2 separate regions of the Homo sapiens genome follow, and region 1 is linked to region 2. Evidence: promoter capture Hi-C in 16 types of primary human blood cells and fetal thymus (Javierre and others, 2016). All regions are on one chromosome and are shown on one strand. The core of a region is centred on a gene start or on the middle of the fragment in contact, and the rest is flanking DNA. Distances in the headings are between cores, read along the strand shown. Region 1 has its middle 600 kb from the start of ARL4A. Region 2 holds the start of ETV1 (ETS variant transcription factor 1).

The links. Contacts are between HindIII fragments. The CHiCAGO score rates a contact against its expected background, and 5 or more counts as called.
Region 1: a fragment that was not itself captured here is called in contact with the fragment with the promoter of ETV1 in region 2 in 1 of 17 cell types (megakaryocytes); the score reaches 5.3 in megakaryocytes.

What each region holds. Positions count from the first base shown.
Region 1 is chr7:13,279,859-13,286,270 of GRCh38, forward strand. No RefSeq gene overlaps it. Among named protein-coding and RNA genes, the nearest start is that of ARL4A, 600 kb to the left of the region's middle. The HindIII fragment of the contact is 2,830 bases long and covers 1-2,672 here.
Region 2 is chr7:13,988,187-13,994,517 of GRCh38, forward strand. It overlaps ETV1 (ETS variant transcription factor 1), which reads right to left and starts at 1,480. Exons shown (of 14, transcript NM_004956.5): 1 at 1,377-1,480; 2 at 1,082-1,278; 3 at 822-953. The coding sequence starts at 866. RefSeq lists an enhancer at 3,000-3,501. The HindIII fragment of the contact is 3,649 bases long and covers 172-3,820 here.

The DNA.
Region 1 (6,412 bases), core at 8-2,507, 710 kb before region 2:
GTTTGCCAATGGAATATAATCTATCCAACATCATTTGTTGATAAGATTATCTTTTCTCTACTGAATTGTTTTTGTACCTTTTAAAAAACTGCACAAGTAAATATGTTTGGCTAATTTGAAATGTCTTAAAATAGAAACGGTTACTTTCAATCTTTTAATTCATATTTCTCATCTATAACCACTAGATGGCGAGATTGGCTTTTATAAGTTTATAAATTATTAGCAACAGGTCCCTGAAATTTTTGATATGGCCTTAGTGAAATTTTATACTCAGAGCTTTAATGTATTATAGTTGTTAAAAAAGTAATTTTACAAAAAGAGCTCTAAATATTTAAGGAGAAGTACAATATTAGTTTATTTTAGAATGTTAGAACCCTCATTCAGTTTTAATAGTGAACTTAGAAAATGAGACAGAAATTAGGCAAATGTTAAGCACTAAGGTAGTGTACATGTGAGTCCTCATGCGTCATTTTTCAAGAACTGTATATTTTTCTAATTCACAGAAAAAATATAAAATTCCTTGATGAATCTTTTAATAAGTTGTCTTTTTTTTTACATTTTTTTCATGTGTATGTCCATACTTACATATTATAGGCCTTGATTTCCAAAAAAAAAAAAAAAAAAAAAAAAAAAGCCCTTTCAATTAGAAAGATGTTTATTGACTTTGAAGACAAAGATATGAAGAACAAAGATTTGTCAAAGTGAGAAGAAATCTGTTGGGAAACATTTGTATTTTGCGATAGCTCTGTGAGATGTCTGTAATTTTTTACTGAAATATTTGAATCCATTTCATTAGTGTTAATTATTATTAGATATACTTATGTTAGTAAAATGAATACATGCATTGGATTGTGCTTCCAGTTTGTCATTTACCTAAAAGAAGTGTGGGAGTGCTCATTACCTGATGACATTGAGTAGTATAGCGAGCAAAACCTGGTTAAAATAGAAAAAAAAAAATCCATGTGTTTCTTTAATAGTCCTTCTCACTGTTCTATATGTCTGCTAATTATTAAATATCATTTTTACATTTTTTCTTGAGGAAACTACTTATTTAACATGGAAACTTATCTAATGAGGTATTGAGAGAAAGAGGGAGAGAGAGGTGTTCTGATGCATTTTTCACATACTCTAGAAATATATAAGCTATACTACATATCTACAGAAGTATAATTATAGTTTTATAGTTATAAATATAACAATTATTTTTTTAATTGCCAGATTTTAGGCTATGTGGAAAAAAAATTATTTAATTGCTGAAGCTATATTTAATTTTCTCATCATTTAACTTTTAGAGACATCAGTTTATTAAGTCAGCAATTGCTATAAAGCACTTTCTTCACTCAGCTTCATGAATACCATTTTATCATTAAGTCTTTAAAAGATCAATGTATAACCATGTGGCATGATGGAAAATCTGGGCTTAAGACAGGTTCAAGACCTAGGTCTTTCATTTTAACTTACTATGTAATTAACCTTACGTTTTAAAAAATTCTGTTATGTACCAGGCACTATAATAAACTCTTGAGATAGATAGATAGATGATAGATTGCCAGCTACATGTCCCAAGTGTTTATAATAGCTATCGATTTATCTATCATCTGTCTATCAATCATCTGTCTGTCTGTCTGTCTGTCTGTCTGTCTGTGTCTTGCTTCATCTTAATAATGACCCTACACTTCAGGTAATAGTACTCACATTTTATGGAACAGAAACCATGGCTCTGCAGGTTTAAGTCACTGGCCTGGGATAACAGAGCTGGCCAGTGGCAGATGGAGTATTTGAACACATCTTATTCTGAAGCCTACTTTACCTCAACTTCATCCTTTTACTACTCTGGGCTAGCTCCATCTATGTCATCTGTAAAATGGGCAAATACAAGAACATGAATCCTAACATACTTCTGATTCTAAAATATTCCTCTCTGGTGTTGTGAGGGAAGATTTTCAGCTCTTTCGGAGTTGACTTAGTTCCCCAAGGCATTCGTTTTACCAAAGCAGCACTCACCAAGGTCAAGGAAAACCTTTGAAATTTCCAGTTAAAAAAATAGACATGCATATATGTATAAAATATCCTCTTATGATCTTTGATAGTATTTAGTATTTTTACTGATTAAAGTTTTTTTTTCTTTTTCTGGGATAAGAACTACTCCAAGAACATGACAACTAGCAGAAAATGAGAGCTGAAGTAGTGTGATGAAATGGAAAGGAACATTTCATTAGTAACTGTAGAGAAAGGAAAAATGAGCTGTTCTTGCTCATAATGTGGATCCAGTAGAAAGTACCAGACCCAATAAACAAATAATTGATTAGAAATATAGCCAAGAACATAGATTCCAAGAGATACCTTTTATAATCCAGGATTCTGTTACCTGATTTGGTTCCATAATAAAAACAAGCACTTACTAACAATTATACATGACATTTATGTTATTTTATACTCTGCAGAAATCTACTTACTGTATTCTTTCTCAGTCTTATTTCAAGCAATTAAAAAATTGTTTGTCTTGTCATGTTGAAGGTCTCAGTTAATGTAAAGTTAATAAAACCGAATCCTTGTCCTGTCCCCTATAATAGTGTAGAAGGCAAGAATAAAAACTCAATTGTCATATATATGTGATTTGTTTATTCTTATAAAGATATATAAATATATAGTGAATTAGTAATAATGAGATAAGCTTGTCCTCTGAGCTTTCCAGCCACTAGATGGAGAACATGCTTTGTGAAATAGTATATGAGAATGAGGAAATCAAGCCAACTTAACTTTGCTGTCTGGGCAAAATTTGTTAATTTGGGTCATATATTAGACTTTTCTGTTTTAGTGGTCAATGTGGTTCAATTTTAAGTTAGGGCATAATTTGCACAATAACTAAAGTTGAAATTAATACTCAGAAACAAACCATACTCTATTTAGAACTAAAATCCATTAAGTTGTCTGAATTACAGGAAGAAGCTGACCAATGAAGATAAAGCCAATTTGTTACATTGGAACAGCTGAACTGGTGAAAAAATTAATATAGCATCCAGCAATCAAAGGATAGGATTAAACTCCAATGAAGTCACTTTGTTTCGTTTTTAACTCTTAAGAAGATCGTTAGCCAAACTGTTTCAAATGGCACCTGGGTTAACACTATCATGAAAATTTTTTTGATCTAGCAAACTTGAAATAATGGCTTCACATTTCTTAATTTCCAGCTTTTAAGCAAATTATTCTGGACTTTGACATCAGTGATCTATGTGGATAGTAACATAGCTATTTTAAATATGCTTGCTCATCCCTCGACTAGTCAAAATTAGGCAGGAAAATGTTATGCTACGGCAGGCAGCCTTATGATGACTGAAATTATAGAAATTACATAAAATTATGTCAACAAATGGCAATAACTTGATATATCAAAATATAGATAACTCTTTTAAGATGTAATTCTGGCCCTCTTAGTCAAGCGTTTATCTTGAGGGGCCATATTGGCAACTAATTTATACAGGACAAAAGTAAAAGAAGAATCTCTATGAATAGATGGGCAGTGATTGAGTTTAGGTGCCAAGGACAATGCTGAATTTTGGGGCAGTTTTTCCAGTGTTATTGTCCAAGAATGGGAAAGTAACTTTTGCCAAGAAAATTCAATGTTCTACAAGCATAACACCATATGTATATGGCAGAGTCGAGTTGATTGCCATGATTATCTCTCTAGTAAATACCATCAATAGCCTCTACATTAAAAATAAAATTGGAATGTTGAAGAACACAAGTACAAAAATAAAGCCTTAATAAACTAAATTACATTAAAATGATGTTTTATTATTTTATGTTGATTTTATATTATTGCTCAGGAAAATGGACACTCTGCATTTGCCAAGTGGAATAACACATACAAAAGCCCAAGTATATGAGGGTAAATGTTTTCCAAATGTCAAAGTTCTGTAAGAGGATAGCATTTAGTATTTTCTTGTGTTGTTAGACTAGAGAACGATTTCACAATTAGCAGTTTGTCAGAATCATCTGGAATTTTTTTTTACATTTTTATTTTCTTTTAATACAAATACCTTGGGTAGAACTGTAAATATTACAATTTAATAAATCTTATGGGTTTCTCAGGATATTCAGGCCTGGAAACCTTACATTAGGCCACATACCTTCTTCCCAGTAGGGTTTAGACCTTGTCTGCCATTGTAGCATCTGTGCCCAATACAAAGCATAGTCCAAAGTAGAATCTTAGTAACAGTTCAGTAAATAGATGATTAGGGATACTCTCAGCAGTAATAGCAAGTGATACTGTTCTAATTGCATGAGTAATTATTGTTCTTATTCTTCATTTTCTCATTGCTGTATCCCCAGTGCCTTTTACATGATCTATAATAGAGAAAAAGCTAATGGGTACTTGTTTAATGAACAGGTAAACATTCAGAATGCCCTAAAAATGCAGATGTTTCTACCTGAGAATCAACACATAGACCTTGTCAAATCCACAATCAAGCTTTATTTATTCAAGGTGCCATGTTTATCACTTACAGGGATGGCTTCCAGCCACCTGAGCCTTCTCCCTCCTAATAGATTTATCCTTATCAAGATTCCCTGAAATACTGAATGGTCCTTGACTGCTAGAATTTTGACAGAAGTTGGAATGTAGTAACCCATACTAAAAGTACTGTTAGTAATTCAAGAAATACAACGGTAAAATTGGATTTCAACCTTTTAGTTTTATTCCTGTGTACACTTACTTCATGTTAGGAAGTGCTAAAATAAAGCAATACAATACCTATTACATTTGCTTGCAGCAGAAAAATAGGTGACATGTTAGTTTTTTTTCCCCTCACCTATGCAGTTCTGTCTGTAATTTAGTGAGATGACTAATGGCTCAAATACAGAAAAGCCAACTTTAAATGGATTATTTTGTGACTGTCTCAGTCAAACACTTCATGACTGCAAACATTTTTATTCCACTAATTTAATTGTTTTATTTTGTTATTCAAAATTAAACTCAGAAGAAAAGAAACTTACCTCTCAAGTCAACAATGAATCTTCCTCCCATTTGAAGTGGTATTAAGAATGTACAAGAAAGTTTGTTTCTTTGTTTATATAGCACTATCTAAATGTTGTTTCATCTGAAATAAATTAAGCAGTTCCACAGCCCCACTTTGGAAACATACACCAACTTAATAAAGACTGGATATGAAAGTTTCGGAAATGTAGGGAACTTAAAAATTAGGAGTGTCCCATTCATGTCTGTAATAAGACTTTTCAGGGAAGGGATAGTCGGGAAGAGAGTCCATATGATGTTGAAAGTCAATAAAATGTCCGAGAACCAGAACAGCTCCTTTTCGTTCTTTGGTGACTATATTGAAGACTTTGTTAAATCATCACTTTAAATTTGTGAAGAGGTAGAATTCTAATTCAGATTTTCCCATTCCCATTGCTCTCTTTCGTAAAAGTCCCTGTCATTTTTTCCAAGCCTCCTATTCTTCCATGTTATGCCTCAGATATTACAGTCTAGGATGACTGATACAAGTGCCTAACAGCACATAATGTTATACATCATCTGTAGCTTGTACAGTTTTTATTCCAAAGGTCCTTTGCTCAAACCTTTAATTGACCAACTCAATCTACAAAGCTCTGTGCAGATACCACCTCTTCTGGGGTTTCTAACTCACTCTAGTTGACTTGCAATATTTTCCCATGTGTTCCTTTAGCTTCCTATGCATGCATTTACAACAATGGTTCTCAACTTTGCTGAATCATGAAAGGATATCTGGCCCCCATACAAAATAATTTTCTATTAATTGGACTAGTTTACTGCCTTAGCATTGGGATCTTAAAAGCTTCCAAAGTGATGCTAATACACAGCCAAGGTTGAGAACCACTGTTCCATGGTTTTATCTTATTTTATTGAAATTTTCTGTTTGTATGTCTGAACCTTCTGTGTGGTCAAGAATTATGCCATGCTGGCTTGGCACAGTAGCTCACTCCTGTAATCCCAGCACTTTGGGAGGCCAAGGCGGGCAGATCACCTGAGGTCAGGAGTTGGAGACCAACCTGGCCAACATGGTGAAAACCCCTCTCTACTAAAAATACAAAAATTAGCCCGGCATGGTGGTGGGTGCCTGTAATCCCAGCTGCTCGGGAGGCTGAGACAGGAGAATCGCTTGAACCCGGGAGGCGGAGGTTTCAGTGAGCCAAGATGGCGGCACTGCACTCCAGCCTGGGCAACAAAGAGCAAAACTCTGTCTTAAAAAAAAAAATTATATCATGGTTATTTGATTTACAGAATTACTGCCAAATAGCATATACATACCCAAAAACAGTTGATGACATAAATTGAATTAATGAGAGAGAGCCTAGAAAGAATCAGATTTGAGGAAGTCATGAGGATTCCTTTAAGCGGTTGAATGTGAATAAAAAGAGAGAAATAGTGGGTGAG
Region 2 (6,331 bases), core at 230-2,729:
GATAAAATCCTTTAAAAGAATGTAAACCTCAGATCACACACACGCACACGCGCGCGCACACACACACACACAGACATGCATACATAAGTCTAATGGATCTTCTCTGAATAGAAAAATAGAAGTCCATAGTATCAACTCTAATATTCATTTTCTCACTTATTTGACAGTGAAAGCTTATGTTAAGCAGGCAGGGAGAGTTGCTTCCCAGTGCCGATCTTAGCACATTACTATTTATCAATCATATATTCATGGTATCTCAGCATCAAAACAACCTGAAGCATTTACACTTAAAGTTGTTTTTAGGCTGGTTCAATGCTAGATTAAAACAGTGGGTTTTATTCTCTCTTGGACAGCCCCTCCTCCCCACCCCACCCCCACAAAAAAAAAAAGCAAAAAGAGTAGAGAAATGAAAAAAAAAAAAAAGAGAAAATGAGAAAAAAAAAAGAAACAAAAACACCCCATATAAACAAAAAGTGTCAGCATTTGTCTCAACTTCATTCTTTTCAATGTGGCAGACAAACCCAGCCAAAAACTTTGAGTGCAGCAGCTGCTGCTGCCCTCCATCTCCTCTTCCACTCATGTTGGGCACTTTAATCAGAAAAAGGGGTCTTAAAAACAAAACTATGCCTTATCCAAATCACTGAAAGGTAAGCTCATTTTGAAGACTGGGCTTCTAGAAGCAGAGTCGCCCTACAGTGGCAACAAAGCAGATAAGTATCTGCAATCCCAACCCCCGTGCCCCCTCCCTTCTCATTTTCTCCCTCTCCCCACCCCCGACGGAGTCAAGTTTATAAACAGCAACTTTCAAACTGATCACTCACATTGGTGACCATGTAAGGCACTTGCTGGTCATAAAATCCATCCATGCTGCTGCTCTTCGCAAATCTCAGCTCAGTATTTTATATTTTGAGCATTTAGCTGGAGATTTCCTCAGGATCTGGACTTCTATCAACCTAGAGGGGAACAAGATGGCTTTTAGGCTTAAAAAAAAATCATGAATGAAGCTCTTGAATTTGCATAGCTAATTACCCTCCGACAGTCCCATTCACAAAAATAACCCTCCCTACACCGCCTCCTTCACCTGGATCCAAAGAGAGCCAACAGAGTTCACAATTTACATATTTTCGGTAGTAGCAAAAATCCGAACAAGAGGCGATGTATTTATTTACACTCTCGATGTTTCCCTGCGCGGTCGGTGTACCCCGGGCAGCTCTGATTCGCAAACGTGTGCAAAACTAGCAATGGCGATCAACGAGACTTGCTTTGCACCTAACGGGACTAAAGAGACGGAGACACCTCTTTCATCAGGATAGTTTTTGCGACCCACAACCATGCAATTATCTGGAGAGACATAAAAAGTTGTTGGAAAGACCCACCTGAAGGCCACGCTAGGCGAAAGGCTGCAAAAACTTCCCTCCAAATTTAATAAAAACATTAATTATAGCCCAGCACTTCCCCCTTGGAAGCCGAAAGCGCCTCTGACAGAGCTCAATTCGGTGGTTTTTCCTCTACTTCTCCTCCAGGGGCCTCCAATCCAAACTGATGGATCGCTGCCTCCCATTGGCTCCGCGTCTCTTTCACAAGATCAGATTTCGGGCTGTCAATCAGGCGGCTTGCTGCCCCTTCCCGCGGGTCTCCCTCGCCCCTCTGCCCTAGGGGGTGCTCGGCCGGTAGGCGCTGGGTCCTCAGCCTGGAAGCGCCACGGAGAGACTCGATTTCCTCTGTAACCCGCTGCTTATTGTTAAGGCGCCTGGGGATACTGAAACCGTGTGTTTCGAGTCGCCAGTTCCCATTATTGGGGTGTTAGGTCCACTATTGGGCTGGTTTCCTTAAAGTACTGTTGTGCGGTTCTGGTATACCCTTAGAGCCGCGATCCACAAAGCCCGTACCGCCTTATTCAGCTGCCCTCCCCTCAGGATCTCCAACCTCTCTACTCTTGCCCTGACTAGGAGCTCACCTCGCTCTCTATCCTCATTCCCACTCAGCTTTTGGCCCAATTTATTTTCCCGTTTTTCAAAACCCACCATCACCATTATGGTTTATCGAAACATTTTTTAAACAGTCATCCTCAACTAAAATTAGATCCTATCGTTCGTGGGACAGAAACATAAAGAATCTATAAGGAAGGCACCTAGGAGATGCAGAATTGCTGATTAGCAGAGGTTGTGATGGGAGGACAACAGAGCAAGCTAGGTGAAAAAGTATAAGTCAAAATGGTCCCTACGTGTGCACTGGGAAAAGGTACTTCCAGTCCACTGTGGCTGTGGGGAGGAGGAGGGAGTGCTTGGGGTTGCTCGTATATCCTAGAACCCGCACGTTTCCTGAGCTTTTGTTATGTATACACGGAGGCGGAGGGTGTCACTTACTGTACTTGACGCTTTCACTTCCTCTCCAGCTTTTAAACAGCCAGAGCCCAGGGTTGGGGGCGAGCGGTGAGATGGCTCGGGTTTCAAGGACAATAACTAGGACGTTAAGCAGTGAGGGCTGCATCTCTGAAGCCACTTGCCCTGATCCTCCTATGGGACTCAGAACAGTAAAGCGTCACTTTAAGGAGCCAGTGTCCAACAGCGGACGGGAGGCCGCGGGGATAGGACCAGGGACTCAATGCTGTTGAAATTCATTTGTGACCAGAACTAGTGACCAAAAGACGTTTCCGGCAGCTGTTCCGCCCGTTAGGAAACGTGCTGCAGTTCTCAATTTCTATTTGAAAGTTTCCTTCCTTAAATAGAACGTTATGGAGACACATTAAAATGGAGTGTAAGAGCGCACAGCACTCAACCCCGGACCTGGGCAGGAGAAAGATCTACTTAAAAAAGAAGCAAACAAACAAACAATCAACACTTATTACTGGGAAAACAACCAATAACTATGGACAGCAAAGACAGACCCCGCGCATTCCCGGAAACTACTAAATCGGAGTTCACAACGCGCGCACCTATAAGCATTTTGAGCGGGAACTGCATTTTAACCCCGGCCAAGGAGAGATTCCAGGAAGCGCCTGGGCCCCGAGGCTGAACAGTGAAGCTCATGGGTACTATCTGAGGGTGCAACCAAGCAGGGGGTCAATAACAAGGGTCCTCCACCACCCTGCACTCCTGGAATAACCCAGCGCCTGTAATCTGAGCAACAGTTTCCAAAGACCTTCTCTGCAGCCCGAGCCTGACGGGTATCCAGGGTAACCGCGAGGGGGCGGAGCTTCGGGTTAGGTCCCGGCGAGGTTCTTCCCGCAGCCAATAACGAGCCGTAAATCCCCAGCCCATTGTTGTTTATTGCTGACCCCTCAGCGCTCCGCTAGGAGATTGGCCGCTTTAGGGAAGGGGGCGGAGTCCCGCCCGCCCCAACAGCCACCTTTCGTCTCCATTCACAAAATTCCGGCCCTTCTTGGTCACGTGGTTGGGGGCGTGGAGGGGTAGAGGAAATGACACAACAAAGGCCCAAGTATCCCAAACCACAAAACTTTTTTCAGCTCGCTGCCTCCTCTTTGTCCTGTCCCTGAAACAGATACTAGATGAGGAAAAAGAGGTTGGGGTCTGGGAGTAATAACAAGAGAGAAAAAAATTAAGACCGAAATTAAAGGAAGGCTCACGTGGGGATAATTCCGGCGTGCACTGCTTAGACAGCTTTTGCACTAGAGGAAAGAAAGAATTGAGAGTGGGGAGAAAGTCTTAAGGACTGGGAACTTTTGCTTGCTGCTTCAAGTCATTGCTTTTAAAGGTGCAAACTGTTCGACTGTAGATGGATTTCAGTTTTTTCACTTAACATTCTGTAATTTTCATTTCTACCTTTTTTTGTATCCCACAGTGTCTTGTTAGTTTTTTAAAGCTTTTATGTATTATTAGTATTATATATTTTTAGGAATATTGATGGTTTTCGCTGGCTGATAGCTTTAGTTTCCATTTCCAAAGACTTATCACTCCTTCCCAGGCCCCCATAAGCTCTGCGCCCCTTCTCCCTCCCTTTAGTGGACTGGCACTCTCAGGCGCTGCGCTGTTAAGCCTCAGATTTTACTACGTATTGCGGTGGCTTCATATTTTCCCTTTTGAGTTCTTTAAACGAACTCATATCTTTTAACTCTTTGATCTTCATAGTAACTGAAAATGATGTTCTCGTGTGAATAAGCAGCTAGTCTCGCTACAGCTCGGTTTTGTTGAAACAGCCTAAAATTTTGAGATAAATGTGTCCCTCTTGACTGTGAACGATTGAACCACCCTCTTTTCTTTCTCCCACTTTCTCTTCTGTCCTTTCTCTGCATTGATACTTACTGAAACACTATCTCTTCTGTCCTTTCTATGCCTTGATACTCAGACACTAGCTTCTAGTTTGGCAGTTGTTTATCTTCTCTGCTTGGCACTGGGAAAAACCAATAGACCCACTTGCTGAAGACAGTGGAAGGGCTGAAAATTTGTTTTTCAGAAAATGTAAGATCTTGGAAAATATCTGCAAAGGCAGCTGTTCTGTCTACAAGACAGGAACATAAAAAGCTGGACAAAGTTTCCACTACTTTTTGAGAATGTCTTTAAAACATCAGTTTAGTAAATGCCAGCCCTTTTGAACGGAAAATTTCATTTTGGCAGGATTTCAGGCATAGAATGGCAGAGCAGAGGCCAAGAGGCTTTGACATTTATTTGCTTGTATTTTGAAATCCCATTTGGATTTTGAAATAAGAGTTCTTGAGAGAAAGCTACCCCCCTCCAAAAAAAAGTCCATTTTTGAGTTTGGAAAGTTTTTAGGTTGCATGTAAAACTATTTAAATTTTTATATTTCCCTTGCTGTTATTTAATAAAGTAAAATAATATTCATTAGTGACTTCTCTACAGTTAACTTACTATGGCATTATGAAGAAATTGCACGTTGTTAAAGAAAGTGAATTTCTAAAAGCAGTTACAGAAAGGCAACAAGCTAAAATGGCGCTGCTTGTTTTAAATGGTTGCTATAATTAAAATCAAATGAAGTTTGCTCAAAATTGAGTAGAGTATTAAGTAAAACAGTAACTTTTAAAATTTGTTGTATTAAAACAGTATGTAAGGCAAATTGTTAAAGATCTAGTTTGCACAGTTACATCAAATAGATAAGAAAAAGATATAAAATTAAACAGCAAAATTGGCCAAGAAAATGAACAAGTGAAAATAATTCCAAAGGAGAACATAGAGTCCTCACAGGAGGGTGAAAGATAATCAGTGGCTTCAGGAACACTGTATGTGAGGAGTAGCAGAAATTTGAGAGGAGGGTGGAGCCTGGGAAGAAGGTAAGGGTATCAAGGAAACTGATACTATGTAGCTGTATACTCTCTCACTCTCAATACTGCCATTTTCAGCTGGTGACTATCTGTAAACTCCCTCAAGTAGAGGAATTGCAAACAACTTATAAATGTGGAAAAAAAAACTTTTAACTGCACCCCAAATCAGTACATTATACTGTACACTTAAAAAATAAAGAATTTTTTTATTTTTATTATTTATTTATTTATTTATTTATTTATTTATTTATTTATTTTGAGACAGAGTCTTGCTCTGTCACCCAGGCTGAAGTGCAGTGGCGCGATCTCGGCTCACTGCAACCTCTACCTCCTGGGTTCAAGTGATTCTCCTGCCTCAGCCTCCCAAGTAGCTGGGAGTACAGGTGCCCGCCACCATGCCCAGCTGATTTTTGTATTTTTAGTAGAGATGGGGTTTCACCATATTGGTCAGGCTGGTCTCAAATCCTGACCTTGTGATCCGCCCACCTTGGCCTCCCAAAGTGCTAGGATTACAGGCATGAGCCACCGCGCCCTGCCTTAAAGAATGTTTTAACTCATCAATTTGGAAGGAAGTTTCTAATATACTTAGAGTTGGATCCTAGGATAAGGGCACTCATGTATATTGCTGGTTGGAATGTGACTTTTTGAAACCTTTTGAAGGTAAGCTTACAATGTCTACTAGACTTTAAAATGAACATCTATTAGACCCTAAAATTATATCCAATAATCCTCATTTGGGAAATCTATACTACAAAAATAAAAGCAATGGTGCATGAAGACATTTATTGAAATATTAGGTACCAAGGAAAAAATCTGGCAGCAACTTCAGTATCCACCAATAAGGAAATGGATTTGACAAAGTATGATACTCTTATAGTTTGGAATTCAATTATCATTATATACCTGTTAAAAAGTATGCTATATGGTTGGTTCTCAAATTTGAGATTATATAAGACACTCCTTGTTAAAAAGTGACATCCCTGGGTGGATTCATAGAGTTTCTGATTCCGTAGGCTTGAGCAAATCACGTGGGAATTCTGTTGCAGGAGGTTGTGTTGCAGTTAGTATGTCAACATTTCTTTGAAAAATCGTGAG